Linked DNA regions of Homo sapiens: region 1 is linked to region 2. The links are contacts of gene promoters, found by promoter capture Hi-C in blood cells and fetal thymus (Javierre and others, 2016). All regions are on one chromosome and are shown on one strand. The core of a region is centred on a gene start or on the middle of the fragment in contact, and the rest is flanking DNA. Distances in the headings are between cores, read along the strand shown. Region 1 overlaps MEGF8 (multiple EGF like domains 8). Region 2 holds the start of GRIK5 (glutamate ionotropic receptor kainate type subunit 5).

Region 1 (3,537 bases), core at 405-2,904, 260 kb before region 2:
TGGGGATTGTCCTGGGAGGGTGGCCCACTCCTGCCCCCTTCCACCCTGGGGGACCCAGAGCCTCATCTCCTTCCTTTGCCTCTCTCCACCTTCCCTTGTCCCTGTGCTCTGCTCTTGGATGCCCTCTTACTGACTCTCTGTCCCTCCTTTCTTCTTCCATTTCCCTCGGTGTATCTGCCACGGCCCCATCCCCACTAACCTTGCCTGAGGAAGCTTCGATGGGCGGAGGTCGGGTGCTCCCACTTAGACTGGCAAGCAGCGGCCCTCGCGGGGAGTCACCGTCATACACGAACAGGTAGTCATACGTGCACTCTGTGTCCAGGAAAAGGAAGTCCAGCAGGATCCGGTGCTGGGGGCTTGGGGCTGGGAGGTGAGCACAGAGGGACCAAGCTCTAAAGCGGACCTTCTCCCCACACCTCCCTGCAGCCTCCCACAATTGTACACCAAACCCTGATCCAGGTGATGCTGGGGGCTCAAGAATGAGTCAGACCTGGGCCCCGCCTTGAAGGGGCCCCCAGTCTCATAACCTAGGGCAGTCAAGGGCTGTGACAGCCAGAGGGACAGGAGCCCAGAGAAAGAATCATAATATTCCAGACCTCTAGAAAGGTCACCTGAGATCAGAATGAACACTCCCACCATTCAGATGGGAAAATTAAGTACAGAGAAAACCCCATCCCAGTGGCCACACAGAGCAGAATCCAGTGTTCCTGATGCCTCTCTCTTCCTGTCCATGCCTGAGTTTCAGACATGTCCAGGCTGGAGGGTCAAGGTCATAATCCCAGTGAGAAGAGCACCTCCGTGACACCACCCCTGGCCCACGCTGAATAGAGCTGCAAGAGAAGAGTCCAGCTTCTTCCCCCAGAACAGAGGCCTAACCTTGGAGCGGCATAGTTCCCCTCTGTCCCCATCCAGAGTCTCACCTCTGCTTATTGTGATGGTTACAAGCACAAACTCTGGAACCAGACTGCCTGAGCTTATGTCTTGGCTCTGCCACCAAATAGCTACCAGCTGTGTGATCTTGGCCAAGTAACCCACCCCCTCTGGATCGGTCTCCTCATCTCTAAAGTGGGATATAGTGGTACTGTGGTGGAATCAAACTTATAGGCCACTCCTGCCATTGAAAGTTAATTCCCTGCCTCTCGTATCTGGGAAGAGCCTTAGTGACTTGCTTGACCAATAAAAAAACAGCAGAAATTCTGAAACTTCCAAGGCTAGATCATAAGAAGACTTGTACTTTTCACCTGGGCCTCGTAGAATGCTCCTTCTCAGAACACAGCTGTCATGATAGGAAAAGCCAAAGCCGGCTGGGCACGGTGGCTCACACCTGTAATCCCAGCACTTTGAGAGGCCAAGGCAGGCGGATCACGAGGACAGGAGTTTGAGACCAGCCTAGCCAACATGGCGAAACCCCGTCTCTACTAAAAATACAAAAATTAGCTGGGCATGGTGGCGGGTGCCTGTAATCCCAGCTACTTGGGAGGCTGAGGCAGGAGAATTGCTTGAACCTGGGAGGCAGAGGTTGCAGTGAGCCGAGATTGTGCCATTGCACTCTAGCCTGGGGGACAAGAGCGAGACTTCGTCTCAAAAAAAAAAACAAAGAAAAGCCAAAGCCACAAGAAAAGGCCACACACAGGCATTCCGGCTGACAGTCCCAACTGAGCTTCCAGCTGACAGCCAGCATCAACTGCCAGCCCTGGGAGGGACCTTCCTGGATGTCCAGCCAAGGTGAACATTCAGCTGACTGCAGCCCCAGCTGACATCTGACTGCAACCTCATGAGGAGCAATAATGCACACGAAATGGTGACAACAGAGTGGGGTGGGTGGCTCACGCCTGTAATCCCAGCACTTTTGAGAGGCCAGGGCAGGTGGATCACCTGAGGTCAGGAGTTCCAGAACAGCCTGGCCAACATGGTGAAACCCTGTCTCTTACTAAAAAAAAATACAAAAATTAGCCAGGCATGGTGGTGCAAGTCCCAGCTACTCAGGAGGCTGAGGCAGGAGAATTGCTTGAACCCGGGAGGCAGAGGTTGCAGTGAGCCAAGATTGCACCACTGCACTCCAGCCTGGGCGACAGAGGGGACTCAAAAAAAAAAAAGAGGCTGGGTGCCGTGGGTCACGCCTATAATCCCAGCACTTTGGGAGGCCAAGGTGGGTGGATCGCTTGAGGTCAAGAGTTCGAGACCAGCCTGGCCAACATGGTGAAACCCCGTCTCTACTAAAAATACAAAAAATTAGCTGGATATGGTGGCACATGCTTGTAATCCCAGCTATTTGGGAGGCTGAGGCAGGAGAATTCTTGAACCCGGGAGGCAGAGGTTACAGTGAGCTGAGATCATGCCATTGCACTCCAGCCTGGGCGACAAGAGTGAAACTCTGTTTCAAAAAAAAAAAAAAGAAATGTTGACAATGGGGCCCACATATCGTGGAGAGTGCCACTACCCCTAACACTGTCACTGTCTTATTCTCTGCCAGTCCTAGTTCAGGTAGCCTCTCTCATTCCACATCCCACATGAGAAGCCTTCTGAACAGGCAGCTCAGGGGAGTCCTCTGGGTGAGGGAAATTAGGAGGCCTAGGCTCTGGCTCTGGCTCTGGCTCTGCCCATGACCAGCTGGAGGACCCTGGGCCAGCCCTTTCCCCCATGACCCTCAGTGTGCCTATCTGGATCCTGGAGACACTCAGCCACCACTGCCAATGGCTGGGTGATCCTGGGCCAGTTCCATGGGCTCTCTGAGCCTTAGTTTCCATGACTGTAAAATGGGGATAATTCCCCCCACCCACAAAGGCTGGGGTGAACATTCAACGAGGTGATGACTCCAGCCTGCCAGCTTAGAGCCAGAGTGTGCCCTGGCTGCCCGGCCTCATCCTGTCTCACCAGAACCACTGATCCAACCTCCTTCTTCCCCTGACATGAGTCTCTGATCTTCCCAACTCAACATCTGGCCCCGTCCCTCCCCTGCCCCAAAGCCCTGCATGGCTCCCTACCACCCTAGGAGAAAGTCCAGGTCCCTAACCTGCTGTTCAGACCCTCGCTTTGTCTCAAATCACCCCACTGCTTACAGCTCTAATGGGAGCTGGGCCTTTGTACAAGCTTCTCCCTCTGTCTGCAACATATTATCCCTTCCCACCACCAGGCCTCTTCCTGATGCCCCCTAGCTGGGTTAGATGCCCCCTCTCCAGGGTTCTCACATCCCATTATAACCTTCATTCCTCTGGGCCAGGAACATCTATGTCCAGGTCTGTCTCCCTGCAGCCTACAAGGCCCATAGAGCAGGGCCTGGATGTGGACCTAATTCCCTCTGCAGCATTGCCCAGACCCGGGCTTGGCAAAGGCTCAGGAAATGCTGGATGATGAAATGAAGAAATACATAAAAGACAGAATACTAAAGCTGGAAGCTCTCCCTCAGGCTCTAACCAGAGCCCCCAAGACATCAGACACAGACCCCACCCATGCTTTGGGGAATGCAGAAGAACCATTCAGCACGGCCACACAACCAGACCTCCCAGAATCTTACCAGCCTCAACCAAACTATAAAGC
Region 2 (3,170 bases), core at 232-2,731:
CAAAGTCCCAGAGGCAGGTGTGAATCTGGGCTTTTAGGCCTGACTGGAGTTAAGTGTGGATGTTTGAGGGGGCGGTGTAGATGTTGACCAAGTGGGGTAAGGAGGTGTGTGCAAAGTTGGTGGTCCTTCAGCGTCAGATATATGTGTCAGATGTGTGTCCAGGATGCCCCACATGCCAGCTTGCAGAGGGCTTCCTGTGCTGGGCTGGCATGTGGTCCAGGAGTTGCCATGTGCCAGCTGTGTGTTCGAGGCATGCGGTCACATATGCTGTGGGCCGCACGTGAGTGTGTCAGTGTCTCCTCCCCATCACGAGCATCGGGGGTGGTGGTGAGTCACGGGCTCAGCCTTCGGCGCCAACTGTCATGTTTCTTCCCCCCAAATTTCACCCCCCACCCAGCCATGCACCACCCACCCCCACTCCAAGATCTGTGTCGCTTCTCTCTTCCATCCCCCTGTCCTGCTCAGCTCCTTCTGAGAGGCTGCAGGGTGTTCCCTGGGAAGGAGTCTCCCACTTCTGGCTCTGCCCTCCAGCTTCCTCTCCTTGTCCCATCCACCTTTCCCACTGCCTCTCTGCTCCTGTGACTAGAGAATGAGGGCCCCTTCTCTCCACCCACTCATCTCTGTGGGTCCCAAGGATTTCTCTGTGCACTATAGGGAATTCTCATACTCACCACCCATCCCCTCACCTCTATAGGAGCTATTTATATTGGGGGAGGCTTGCCCCGCATCTCCAGGCTGGCAGCTCCTGCCTCAGTGGCTCTCTTGTGTCTATGAGCCACATCCTTGTCTTTTTGGTACCCTGGTGTCTGTAGGCCTCCCTTGTTTCTGTGACCTTCTTCGGCTCTCCTTGGCTCTCTCCCTGCCCTGTGGACCGCTCCCCATATCTGAGGAGTGCTTTCTGTTTCCAGGGGCCTCTCTCTTGTGTCTCTGGCTTCTCCCGTTTTCCTTCGCGGGAGGTCTCTATGTCCACATTACTGCCCCTTGTCTCCGAGGTCCTTTTGCTTGTCTCTGTAGGCTGCTCCCTTGTCTCCATGGGCCTTTCTTTCTTATCCCTGGGCTTTTCCTGTCCTTGTCCTTGTGGGGTTTGTGGGCCTCAGCCCACTTCTCTGGACAGTCTTGACGGCTGTCTCTCTTCTCTTCATTTCTCTTCATCTCTGTAGCCCTCTCCCCTCATCTCAGTGGCCTTCTCCCTGGGTCTTCTTGCCTCTCATCTCTGTGGGCTCCTGTGCCCAGGGCTGCCTGGGCAGGGCGGTGGCATGGTGTGGTAGAGGGGGTGGCTCGGGGGTGGGCCTTCCATCCAATGCAGCTCCTTCTTCTCATCAGCATTCTCCTCGCGGGGGGCCCCCAGCCCCAACCAATACAGGCTCCCCCTCCCCCGACTCACCTCCCTACTCTCTCTTTGCCTGCCTCCCTCCCTTCCTCCTGCCCGCCCTCCTCCCTGCCTCCCTCCCTCCCTCTTCTCTCTCTCCTGAACCACCCCACTGCGCTCCAGGACCCAGCGCAGGCGGCAGGCGGGCAGGCAGGCGGCGGCCTCGGAGGGGAGACTGAGCGGTGGCGGCAGCCAGCGGCAGGGAGGCAGGCCCAGCCGGGGACTGGAGCCGGGGACTGGAGCCGGCTCCTCACAGGGGACCAGGAGTGTGTCGCCAGGCCCTCCCACTGAGGCCCAGCACCGGGAGCCCCTGGGACACCCCACCCTCCTCCGCCTTTCTCTTCCACCTGCTCCTCTCCATCCTCCTCTCCCTCCTCCCTATCTCTCCACCTCATTTGCCCCCTTCTTGGCCTCTCCGGGTCTCCCAGCTCTCCATCCTCCCCAGCTCTCCACTCCCGGGCTCTCCCCGCCCCCAGCATGCTTTTCCCGTGGGGGCTGAGGGCTTGAGGACTCCGGGCCCTTGCCTCAACCAGGGCAGGGCCCAGGCTCCAGGGGGGAGGGGGAAAGGGGGCGGCCCCCTCCCCCAGCAGGCCCTCCCCTCCCCCACTTCTCCTGATGGCCGGCTTCCTTTTCTCCACCCAGTCCTCGCCCCCTGTGGCCCCCCCAGGCCGGCCCGGCTAGGGGAGGGGGCGGGGGCCCTTTCCTGGGCCAGCTTCCCCCTCCCCCGGCTTTGCCTGTGCCCCCCCCTTCCGTTTTCACCTTCCTCTCCTCCTTTCCTCCCTCCTTCCCCTCCATTTGCTCCTTCCCCCTCTCCTCTCTCCCCTTCTCTCCTCCATTTTCTCCTTTCCCCTTCCTCCCCTCCCCGGCCCGCCCTCTCCTCTTCCACCTGTCCTTCCTCCCTGCTCCTGTGGAGCCACCGTTTTGGATTAGTTGGGAGCCACCACCGGCGGCGGGGGAGGGGGCCCTGTGGACTGCCCTCTCCCCCCGCCCAGCCCCACCACCACCCAGCGCCAGAGCACCTCCCGCTGTCGGTCTTCGGGCCTCGAGGGAGCCCAGCCCTCCGTCCCACCAGGATCCGTGAGTGTCTGCAGGGCAGGGATTGGGCTGGGTTCTGGGTCCTGGAAGGCTGGGCTCTGGTGCCGCCTGGCAGGGGGGCACCACATTCTCCCCGTTCTCCGGACTGGCAAGTACCCTCCCCCACTAGGGGCCTGCTCTGCGCCCTCCATCTCCTCAGCGTCCATTCACCTCGACCTCTTCTCACCTCTTCTTCTGGGTACATAGCTCACTGCCGCCCCTGGCCCTCTAGCTTTCTGGGGTCCTACGGGGCTGATTGCTCTTACTTGGGCTCTCACTTACCCCGGGCCCCTGGCATGTCCGTGCCCCTGCTGTCTCCAAGCCTCCGTCCTGGTCCCAGACTGGCTCTTTCTGTTCCTCTGAGCCTCATCCTCTGCCTGCGGTGGGCCTTGGCCCTGTCCCCACCCCGTCCAGTCTCTATCTCCTGGATATGTCTTTCCGCTTTTGAGCCCCCATTTCCTGTGTCTCTTGGGCCCCTCTCTGACTCTGCCCAACTTCTCTCTTTGCTGTTAGCCCAGGTTGCTCTCGGCATGTCTCTGTTTAGATCCCTCTCTCTGTCAGAACTCCTCCACCCTGGCTTCCCTCTTTCCAAGTCTCCCTCGGCAGGTCTCTTTCCATTTCTCTTTCTATTCTGTGCCTCCGCTCACCTGTCCTCCTCCCTCTCTCTGCCTCTGAGCTTGGAGGCTGTCTTCCCTCTGTCACTTTTCCACCTCTTTCCCCCAGATCC

What was found. Contacts are between HindIII fragments. The CHiCAGO score rates a contact against its expected background, and 5 or more counts as called.
Region 1: a contact is called between a fragment that was not itself captured here and the fragment with the promoter of GRIK5 in region 2, in 1 of 17 cell types (naive CD8 T cells). The highest score is 5.0, in naive CD8 T cells.

The regions. Positions count from the first base shown.
Region 1 is chr19:42,330,431-42,333,967 of GRCh38, reverse strand. It overlaps MEGF8 (multiple EGF like domains 8), which reads right to left. Exons shown (of 42, transcript NM_001271938.2): 2 at 200-363. Among named protein-coding and RNA genes, the nearest start is that of MEGF8, 6.6 kb to the right of the region's middle. The HindIII fragment of the contact is 2,877 bases long and covers 216-3,092 here.
Region 2 is chr19:42,068,517-42,071,686 of GRCh38, reverse strand. GRIK5 (glutamate ionotropic receptor kainate type subunit 5) reads left to right here and starts at 1,481. Exons shown (of 20, transcript NM_002088.5): 1 at 1,481-2,446. It also overlaps a transcript of ZNF574 not described here. The HindIII fragment of the contact is 24,593 bases long and covers 1-3,170 here.